Regions from separate parts of the Homo sapiens genome. Here region 1 is linked to region 2. The links are contacts of gene promoters, found by promoter capture Hi-C in blood cells and fetal thymus (Javierre and others, 2016). All regions are on one chromosome and are shown on one strand. Each heading gives the region's core, a stretch centred on a gene start or on the middle of the fragment in contact. The rest is flanking DNA. Distances are from core to core; before and after follow the strand shown.

What was found. The method cuts DNA at HindIII sites, captures the fragments that hold promoters and counts their contacts. A CHiCAGO score of 5 or more calls a contact.
Region 1: a fragment that was not itself captured here is called in contact with the fragment with the promoter of APOA5 in region 2 in 8 of 17 cell types (naive CD8 T cells, naive CD4 T cells, activated CD4 T cells and 5 more); the score reaches 7.7 in naive CD8 T cells.

What each region holds. Positions count from the first base shown.
Region 1 is chr11:116,901,651-116,907,479 of GRCh38, forward strand. The region is part of intron 4 of SIK3 (SIK family kinase 3); the gene reads right to left. Among named protein-coding and RNA genes, the nearest start is that of APOA1, 67 kb to the left of the region's middle. The HindIII fragment of the contact is 1,197 bases long and covers 2,365-3,561 here.
Region 2 is chr11:116,790,402-116,795,627 of GRCh38, forward strand. APOA5 (apolipoprotein A5) reads right to left here and starts at 1,478. Exons shown (of 3, transcript NM_001371904.1): 1 at 1,411-1,478; 2 at 1,185-1,296; 3 at 1-666. The coding sequence starts at 1,459. The HindIII fragment of the contact is 6,000 bases long and covers 1-2,412 here.

The DNA.
Region 1 (5,829 bases), core at 1,713-4,212, 110 kb after region 2:
TTCTAGCTCCTGAAAAACATCCTCTCTTGTAAAGATCTACCCTCTCTCTCTAGTTCCTTACCTTATTCTTCTCTCTTTCACAGTATCTAACAGTGTTTAACACAGTGGGCACTTAATGTTGACTATGAACAAAACTGCATTTAATGCTCTACCAACTAACCTGCAACTTTTGAAACACCGTAACTTTCACTTACAAATTAAAGTCTGCACACACTGGTCACTATTAAGATTTTTTTCTTAGGAGAGTGGGAACAGGTTGCTAAAAATCCCAACAACTGAGATTCAGCAAAGTTGACGTCTCTGGGAATTATCCAGAAGGAAGATCCTTAGGTTTGCAAAAATAAAAGACAGAAAAAAGATCCTTAGATTTGCAAAAAACCTTCACCAGGTCCTTTTCCATGATCAGCCTTCCTCTTCTCTCCAGTGCAGAGGAGAAATGCGAATGATTCTGTTCTGCCTGATGGATTCTGGCACTGGAATGACTGGATAACAAACTCTAGAAGAATCATGGCTAGAAGAATCATGGAGTTTTTTGTTTGTGTTTTCAATGGAGCATGCAACAGGCTAAGCAATGAATTTAAACCAGTTGAGTTTAAATTCGCCTATAAGCAGATAAAATGTACAGACTTCTCATTTTGAACCACTAATGTTTAGTAACCTTTCTAGCATGTTACTTTGCCAGGGAGGTGAAGGCACAAACCTAATAGTGTGAGCTTGTTATTTTATCTACCAAACAGGAAACTGTTACAAAGAAAACAATATCAAAGGGAACCAGCTTCAGCAATGTCTGCAGGCTTAGACTGCTAATAGTTATAAGGATTTTATATGAGAAATGAGTGTATGAGAATGAATGATATATTACAGCCAGACAACTAGAGAGAGCCACATCTGCAGAAGCACCTGCTTCCACTATGTTACATCCAAACAGCTGGCTTCAACAGCTAGACCCAATAACCAAATGCAAGATTTCTGTAAGATTCAACAACAACCAAATACTACTGGCTTGCTCTCATCTCCTATTATGCACCAAACAAAATCCTCTAGTCTCAGAAACCTGTCGAGAGGTCTTCTATAATCATTCCAAGTATTGTTACTCCCAACTCTAAGGTGTACATTCAAGCAAAATCTTGCTATTCCCTGCCTACAAGACACCTTTTACCCCCCAATTATGGGCAGATTCCTTTAATTACTGAGCCTGCGGTATCCTAATTCTTTCTTTAACGTACCAAACCTAACAGGATCTGATCCACTCTCCCTTTTCAATATACATATTATTATAAATTGACGGTTTCATTGAAAGCATATCGCTGTCTTCTCTTCCCTACCAGTGGCTCTTTACTAGTATTTCACATTAATCTTCACTATTGCTATGCATCTTGTAAGTTAAAATTCTGTCTAATTTGCTGCCCATTCAGCTATAACATAACTTATTTTCTGAACATTTAAATTATCCGTGTGGGAAAGCCTCAAATTATTACCATGTACTAAATCTGGAAGTCATTTTGAAAATTCAGTGCCTTCCAATCAATACTTCTGGGACTGAGTAACTGTGATGGGAGAATACCTCCTCTTCATTCTCTTAGCTGCTTGCCTTTGGGGACATTTTGCTGCACATTTTAAGAGGACTGGAAAGAAAAATACAGTTAAAACAAACTAGTCTATTTTAGGTTCTGTTGATAGTTTAGTGATGTACTAGGGGAATGCTGGGGTGTGTGGTAGGAAATGGAGGTGGGGAACAGATAGACATGGAACAGAATCACTAAGAGCTTTGCTGTTTTCAGTTATCTACATGTATAGACAACTGGAAAAAATTGAAAGATCATCCAAGTTGGAGGAAAAAAATTCTCATAACACAAATTCAAGCAATGAGTAAAAAAGAATGAGGAAGAATTCTCACTGGCTTAAGTCAGAAATGCCAAAGAAAAAGGTAAAGAAAAACTTTTTTTTTGGAGATGGAGTCTTGCTCTGTTTCCCAGATGGGAGTGCAGTGGCACAATCATAGTTCACTGAAGCCTTTACCTCCTGGGCTCAAGCCATCTTCCTGCCTCAGCCTCCTAAGTAGCTGGGACTTCAGGCAAACACCACCATGCCTAGCTATTTAAAAAAAATTTTTTTGTAGTGATGGGGGTCTTGCTATGTTGTCCAGGCTGGTCTCAAACTCCTAGGCTCAAGCGATCCTCCTGACTAGGCCTTCGTAAGTGCTGGGATTACAAGCAACAGCCACTGCACCAAGCCAAGAAAAGCTTTAGAGCTTAAGTTTGATCTGAACTTGAACCTAGAAAACCATTTCTATTTAATAGGCTTTTTCATCTTATTTTGGCTCTGGAGCTACTCTAATTCACAATATCTTTCATTATTTACTAAAGCTTCCTATTCTTAATGTCTCTTTTATAAGTCTCTAAGTAAGTTCCTCCATTTCCTTCACTCTTTATGTAACATGTATTTATGGAACTCTTCCAATGGGAATAGCAATGTGTTAGATCTTCTAACAAACCAAAGGCATAAAACATAGTTCTAGGGAAAGGCTCAAAGGAAGCAGAACTTGGTTGAATGGCCAGGATCTGGAGAGGCAATGAAGGAAGGTGGAAAGGGTGCTCTGAATGGCAGTCAGGAGGGAGCACGAGCAAGGGCAGAACACTTAGAATTAACTCGCTAAGTTCAAGTGACAAGCAAGACACTGCCCTGGGTACAATAAAGGGTTTGTAGGGGCATATGGCAAGAAATAAAGAGTGCACAGCAGCATCATGCCAGATAAAATACAGCTTCAAATGACAGAATGAAGACCTTGGACTTCATCCTGTGAACCATTACTATTTTTTCTTTCCTTTTTTTTTCCTCCACATTTAAAAATTTTATTAGACTTCAGATACAAAAAAACTTGATTATGAATTTATTATAACCTTTGGCTCATGACACACTCTCCATGCTCCACTCATTTACTGCTTTTATTTCAATTGTTTTTTCCCTACAGCATTATTGAGATAAGGAATACGAAATATATTACTTCATATTCTTAATGTCTCTTTTATAAGTCTCTCATAAAATATTTTCTTATAAAATGTTATTCTTTTTTCTTTTTAATTTTTAAATTTTAAAACATAGAATAAAATAGAGACAGGGTCTTGCTGTGTTGCCCAGGCTGGTCTCGAACTCCTGAGCTCACATGATCCTCCCACCTCGGCCTTCCGAAGCGCTGGGATTACAGGCATGAGCCGCTGCACCTGGCCATAACATATTTCTTGTATTCCATATCCCATACAATTCACGCATTGAAAGTGTAATGCCCAGCGGCTTTTAGCGCATTCACAGAGTTGTGCGACGATGACCACAATCAGTTTTAGAACATTTTTCACCTTGTAAGGAAAAGGCAGTGAAAAAACCAAAGAAGAAATTTTAGAACATTTTCATCACCCCAAAAAGAAACCCTGTGCTAATTAGGAGTTACTCCCCAACACCCTTCAAGTCTTTCACCAATGGCCCAGCCCTAGGCTTTCTACTTTCTGTCTCTATGAGACTTGTCAATTTTGGACATTTCACATAAATGGAATCATACAATATATAAGCTTTAGTGTCTGGCTTCTTTCACTGAGCATAATATTTTGGAGGTTCATCCATGTTGTTGCCTATGTCAGCACTTGAGTCTATTTTACTGCTGAATAACATCCATGGTATGGACATTCCACATTTTATTTATCCATTCATCATCTGTTGAACATTCAGGTTGTTTCCACTTTGCAGCGACTAAAAATAATGCTGCTATGAACATTTATGTGAGTTTCTGTGTGGCCATATGGTTTCATTTCTCTTGGATATATACCTGGGAGTGGAACTGCTGGGTCATATGGTAACTCTGCTTAACTTTTTAGGAAGTATCCAAACTGCTATCCAAAGTGGCCGTACCATTATACATCCCTACCAGCAACGTACAAGGATTCCAATTTCTCCACATCTTTGCCAACACTTATTGTCTTTATTATTATTACTTATTATTGTCAATTCAGCTGTCCCAGTGGATGTGAAATGATATCTTACAGTGGTTTTCATTTATATTTCCCTGATGGCTAATAATATTGAGCATCTTTTCATGTGCTTTTCAGCCATTTGTATATCTGCTTTGGAGAAATGTCTATTCAAATCTTTTGTGCAGTTTAAAATTGGTTATCTTTTTATTATTGAGTTGTGAGTGTTCTTTATACATTCTGGATACAAATCTCTTATTAGATATATGATTTGCAAATATTTTCTCCCATTCTGTGGACTTTCATTATCTTGATGATGTCCTTTGATGCACAAAAGTTTTAAATGTTGATGAGGTCCAACTTATCTGTATTTCCTTTTGTCACTTATGCTTTTGGTGTGAATATAAAGGTACCAGTAAAACACAGTTCTTTCTGAAGAGGTTTGAGAGCCACACTTACAGGCAATAAGGAGTTGCTAGGACTTCTGAGCAGGCAGGTGAAGTGGTAAAATAAACTAGAAAGCAAGATTAGGTTAGGTGTGAGGTGAATATTGAAGGCTGTGATCAGATGAGATATTGAAAATGAAAAAAACAATTCAAAAGATGTTCTGAAAGGAGCGGACAGTACTTGATAACAAACAGAATATATGGGATGAAAAAGAAGGAGAAGTAGAGAATATGGCCCTGAGCAGATGACAGACTTAAGGAAAGCAGAAGTTGGTTTGGGAAGAAAAAAAATTACTTTTTCTTTATGTCCTGAGTTTGAGAAGGTGATCAGAAATTTAAGTGAAGATATTCTGAGAAACTGAATTATAGTAGTAAAAGGATAAAATATTTTTGAAAGAAAAAGTAGAGAAAAGGGAAGGATGAGAATTAAGGCTTCGAAAACACCCAGAGGTACTTCCTATTCCCTAGGTGCGAGAACAGAAAGAGGATGCAGCAAAAAGGAGAGAGAAAGCGCGGCTAAAGGAAGAAAGTCAGGAAAATGTAACAAGGAAGCCGAGAGAGCAGAAAAGCAGAAAAAGGTGGCTTACAGCATCCATGTAATCTCATCCAAGTGTTATGTAACTTTGATCTGAGGGAAAACAAATGATGACATAATTATTCTCGATGAGAAATGGTATCATTTTCCCCTCAGAATTTTTGTTTATTTGTTGTAAAGACAGGCTACATCACAGAAATGGACTACAAATATAATCCAGATCCATTCAGAGTTATCTACAATGTCAAGCTGTGAATAAAATTAGGCATTTCTTACCAAGATTGATGACAACCAACAGATACTAATCCTAAGTTATATACAAATATATTCAGAGTACTTAGAAACGAACGTCGTGGCCATGCAGGTGAGTGGCAAGAGCCCTGGAGGGAGCCATGTATCCCAGAAAGACTTGGAACTGGACTGTCCTTGACTCATCTCTCCAGTGCAACAGTTTTCCTATTTGTGCTGCACTTTGCAGTATTAAACAGTTGTTTTTCAAAGGACCTTCTGTTGAGTGCTGCGCTACAGCACCTTGTATTTATTACCTCATTGAGATGAGCATTATTTTTGTTTTATGCCTGAGACGTGAGGTTCAAAAGTAACATTCCCAAGTATAAAGGTTAAAGAAAAATTAGTATGAATCAGATGCAGCCTATAACGCCAGTTCTCAGTGCCCTCAAAATCCAGCCCCACATTGTGCTTTCAGCATCATGTATGTGTTTATATTTAAGTTCACGTACATCCCATAATTATTTTTATTGAAATTTAAAAATTTGCCAGGCACAGTGGCTCACACCTGTAATCCCAGAACTTTGGGAGGCCAAGGCTGGCGGATCACTTGAGGTCAGGAGTTTAAGACCAGCCTGGCCAACACGGCAAAACCCCGTCT
Region 2 (5,226 bases), core at 228-2,727:
ATCTGGGGGTCCGGGCCGGCCCCTTCCTCAGTCCCAGTGCCTGCAAAGGCTCTGCTGAGCTCTTCGCGCAGCTGGTCCAGGTTCTGCTGGATGCGTGCGTGCAGGGCCTTGGCCTTGAGCGTGAGCTTCCGGGAGAGCACCTGCACGCAGCGACTGAGGCGCGCGGGGCTGGCGGGGGCGTGCGGAGCCACACTGCGGTGCAGCTCCTGCACGTGGCGCCCGATGCCGCTCACCAGGCTCTCGGCGTATGGGTGGAAGAGCTCTTTGAAGCGGCCGGTGTGGTGCACCACGCGGCTCTGCAGTCCCTGCAGCAAAGCCCAAGCCTCGTCCACGCCCCCCAGCAACTGGGCCTTGGTGTCTTCCCCCACCACGCGCAACTGCTCCTGCAGCTCCTGCACGCGCAGGGCCACCTGCTCCATCAGATCCATCGTGTAGGGCTTCAGTTGCTGCCGCAAGCCCTCCAAATTCCAGCCCACCAGCTCGTGCGCCTCTGCCATGTAGGGCTGGAGGCGAGCCTTCACCTCCTCCAACTCCTCCTGCAGCTGCCGCCGCATGCCCACCGGGTCCTGTGGGAGCCGAGGAGCCTCGCTCCCACTCAGAGGCCTCAGCTTTTCCAGGAACTTGTTCATATTGTTGAGGTCTTGCTCAAGGCTGTCTTTCAGGGTCCTGGAGAAGGGGACAGATATCCAGGCCGTCAGACTGCTAGCCTCCATCATCTCCTTTGTCCCCAAGTCATCGCGCACTGATCCTCTGGGGGAACCAAGGACGCAGGGCGTTGGCCCCAGGGTCGAGGGCTCTTGTCCTAGCCCTGGCCAGTAACAACTCACGCACGAAGCACAAACACATTGCCCATACAAATCCAGACCTACAACACTCTCCAAAGAAACATAGATGCGCCACATCATCCTTTGATTCTGGGGACTGCAGCGGGCGTCCTCCCGATTGATCCCAGGTCCCGCGCCTCAGTGAGCAAGGGGGCAACAGCTACGGAGTTGTCAAGGCGGGGGCTGCAGGCAGAGGGCGCTAAAGAGCCCAGGATGGCCGGGATCTGCAGACAGAGCTAGCACCGCTCCTTTCCTCTGTCCCAGCAGCGGCCACAGAGGTTGAGGCAGCAGAGGCAGGTCATCATGGCATGGCCCAGCTGTCTCCTCCCTTCGCCTACACCCCTTCCCCTGGGCACTCACGCGGGCTCGCGAGCCATCTTCTGCTGATGGATCTGCTCCACCCTGCCTTTGTCCCCGCTGGTCTGGCTGAAGTAGTCCCAGAAGCCTTTCCGTGCCTGGGTGGCCGAAAACGCTGTGGAGAGGGACTAGGTAATCAGGGCCTGGGCTCTCCTCCCCCAGGGTGGACAGGGCCCTCTGGCCAGCCTCCACCCACACCCCCACGTTGAAGTCAGGGTCGGAGACCCACCTGAAAGAAGAGCCAGAGCCCAGGTGAGCACGGCAGCCATGCTTGCCATTACCTGCTCTGAGAAGACAGGTGGAGGGAGGCCTGGTTAGGGGAAGAAGGAGACGAAGGGACATGGCGCAGGGGACTTGCCCAGGGGGCCTCTGCAGGGGCAACTGCCCGAAATCCTGTTACCCCTTCCTTGGGCTGGGGAGCACAGAGCTGTTGGGGCTCAAGAGGACTGACCTAGGTGAGTCAAGGAGGCTAGGGTGTCTTCCTCAGACATGGGAAGAGGGCGTGCTCTTGCTACCTCAGTCACATAGCAGGGAGCGTGGTGCTCTAACCCCTTCGCAAAGGTCCCAGACCCCAGGAACAGTTCTCTAGGCCACTTCTACCACCTCTCCCCTGCCCACCTGTCTCCCTCCCTCCCATTTCATGGTGGAAAAACTGAGCCATAATGAGGGCGAAGAGGCAACTCTGCCAAAATGTTCCAAGAGGACGTCTTAGGGGCCACCCCAGGCTCTCCCCTGAGGCCACCTGCAATGCCCTCCCTTAGGACTGTGACCCCCATCCCTCTGCCCCAGCTGCTCACCTGCTCACGTCTGGGCACAGAGAGCAGACATTCTGCTTTATACTCCAGGGCCCTGAGCCTCTGGCACCAATTGCTCTGAGTAAATACCACGTGGAAGTTCAAAAGAAGTTGACCTCAGCTGCCTCCCAGCACTCACCTCCTGCCCTTTCCCTGGCACCCAGAGGGTTAATGAGTGCCCTGGTATCAGGGGCTGCCCCAGTAGAGAAGTGCTTCCCAGGAGCTTTACGGGGGATGGGGCTGAACTCCTCACCCAGTTTCTCCCAAACCCCATGACCTTTAACCTTCCCACTGACCTGCTGGCTGGCCCACCAACAGAGAAGAACCTGTTTGTCTGCCAAGGGCCCCTCTCTTACACAACTACCCAGAGTCACTGTGTCCCAGCCGGCAAGATGGACAGTGTTCACCTACCAGCCAGAACCCGAGCAGCCCCTGAAAGCTTCACTACAGGTTCCGCAGGCATCCTCAGCCAGCATTCATAGGGTTAAAGACCAACCACATCCCTCTTTATGAAACAATCCTGGAACAAGCAAGGGAAGCCAGGCAGGGTGAAGATGAGATGGCAAGAGGCATCTGGGCCAGGGACTCTGAGCCCCAGGAACTGGAGCGAAAGTGAGATTTGCCCCATGAGGAAAAGCTGAACTCCACTCGCAGGGCCTCTGAGGAGAGCAAGCCCAAATGCTCAGATCTTCTCTGATGACACACCCACTCCGTCTACAGTACTCATACACACGTTCACAAGCTCCCGATTCTTGGTCCTAAATGCATCTTGAATCAATCCCCTCTCCTCCATTTCCACTACCATCATTGCACCAGTTGTCTGTCACCTTGATTGCATTCATAGCCTCCAACAGGTCTTTCTACCACACTCCTGCCCATTTAATTCATCCTCCACTGTGGCTCATCCTGACTCATTTCCAGTCTCATCTGCTGCCACATAAAACCACGGCATTCCCTGAGCCTTTATACAGGCTTCCCTCTGCTTGAAATAGCCTATCCCCTGGTGAATATATATTCATTTTTTAGAGTTAGTTTGTATTAGTTAGAATTAGACTTGGCTGCAAGGGACATATATATGTGTGTATATATATACACACACACATGTATATTTTATATTCTTGCATACATATATGTATATATATGTGTGTGTGTATATATACACATATATATATACAAGATACTGCTCTTACCACTCATACTGACATCCCATTGGCCACAAGTTAGTCACATGGCTACACTTAGCTGATATATATGTGTATATATATATGCAAGAGAATAGCTTAAACAAAATGGAGTCTTATTTCCTTCTCATGTAAATGTAGGCCAGCTCGGGCTGCTTTTATCTTGTTGCACTATTATCATCAACAAGACGCTCATATCCAAGTTCCAGCTGCTTCACCTCCAGCTACCAAGTTCACCTCCCAGGGAACAGGAAGGAGGAAAAGGAGAAGGACATGTTCCTTCCTTTTAAAGACACATCCCAGATATTGCCATTACCACTTGTACTGACATCCCATTGGCCACAACTTAGTCACATGGCTACACTTAGCTGAAAAGGAGGCTGGGAAATATAGTTTTTATTTTGGATGGCTGTATGCCTAGCTGAAAAAGGACTCTATTACTCAGGAAGAAGAGAAGAAAGGATTTGAGGGAACAGTAGTAGCCCCTGCTACACAGCTCCAGTATCACTCTGAATGCCTTCTTCGGCCTTCACCTTTTTCTGCTCTGGAGATAAACTGATTCCACATTATTCACACAACACTGTATATTCCTGGATTATAGCACTTACTATCTAACTGCACAATAATTTGTTGATGAATCCGAGAGCTCTTTGAGTGCAGGGGCTTTTTCTTATTCATCTCTATATCCACTAGTATGTTTTGCACAGTGCCTACCTACTACATACAAAGTTAAGTGACTGAATTCAATCATTCATTTGATTTAGGAACTGAGGTTTGAGGAGATCAAGTGGCCTGTCCATCATCACGCAGTAAGAGTTGCAACCAGAATCAGAACCCAGGTGCTTGGCTCTGGTGGTTCAAGAGAGCAGACTATGACCAAGTCACAAAGGGGCTTGTGCAAGCAGTCACTGAAAGGTACATGATGGAGAGATCACTCAGGAGGGTGGCCAGAGAGAAGGCAGAGGAACTATTTAGGGATATTTTAATAATCCAAGTGAGAAATGAAGGCCTGAAGTATGGCATAGCAGTGATGGTTGATAGGTAAGTATATATTGAGGGCTACTAAGGCAGCAGAGTTGATAGCACTTGGTGACTGATTGGATGAGGAAGGTGAAGGAGAGGAAAAAATCCCAATGATTCCCAGGTTTCTGAGCAACTAGGGGGATGATATTTTCTTTCACCAAAAAAAATAAGCAGGTTGGGACAGGAAGTGAGAGCTCAGATTAACAGGAGTCCTAACTCGAACCTAAGCTGGGTTTCAGATAGGCATAGGGCAAGCCCAGTTGAGGTCTATTTGCTTAATGGCTAAGAAGCCTCCTAAGAGAAAATTCATTTGAAAGGAAAAAAAGCAACAGGAGCTACCATCCAGTCACAAAACCACAGTCATGAAAAGAGAAGAGAGACTCAGAGTATTTGGGAAGGGAACATTTCCAGGGGTTGAAAAAATGTGGGAGTGGAGAGCCACTGAAATTGACTTTGGGTGATTACTTGTACCCACAAGCTAGTGTGGCCTTGTGCCCAAAGGCTGTCCACTGGAGATGTTCTGGCAGTTGGATACATATGTCTCAAGCCCAGGAGAGAAGTCTCGGCTGGAGACTGAGTTTTGGGAGTCATCAGCAGATAGGAGCAGTGGAAGACTTGGGAGTAGATGAAATCTCTAGGGAGAGTACATGGCAGGAGAAAAGAAAAACGCTGAGGTCAGAAAACACCAGTATTGGCCGGGTACAGTGGCTCACGCCTGTAATCCCAACACTTTGGGAGACCGAAGCAGGCGGATCACTTGAAGCCAAGAGTTTGAGACCAGCCTGGCCAACACGGTAAAACCCTGTCTCTACTAAAAATACAAAAAAAATAGCCAGGTATGATGGCACACGCCTGTAATCCTAGCTACTTGGGAGGCCAAGGCTGGAGGAGTGCTTGAACCTGGGAGGTGGAGGTTGCAGTGAGCTGAGATAGGGCCACTGCACTCCAGCCCGGGTGACGGAGCGGGACTCCATTTCAAACAACAACAACAACAAAAGAAGCCTTTGGCAGAGAAAATTAACGCTTTCCAAAGATCCATGTGCTGTG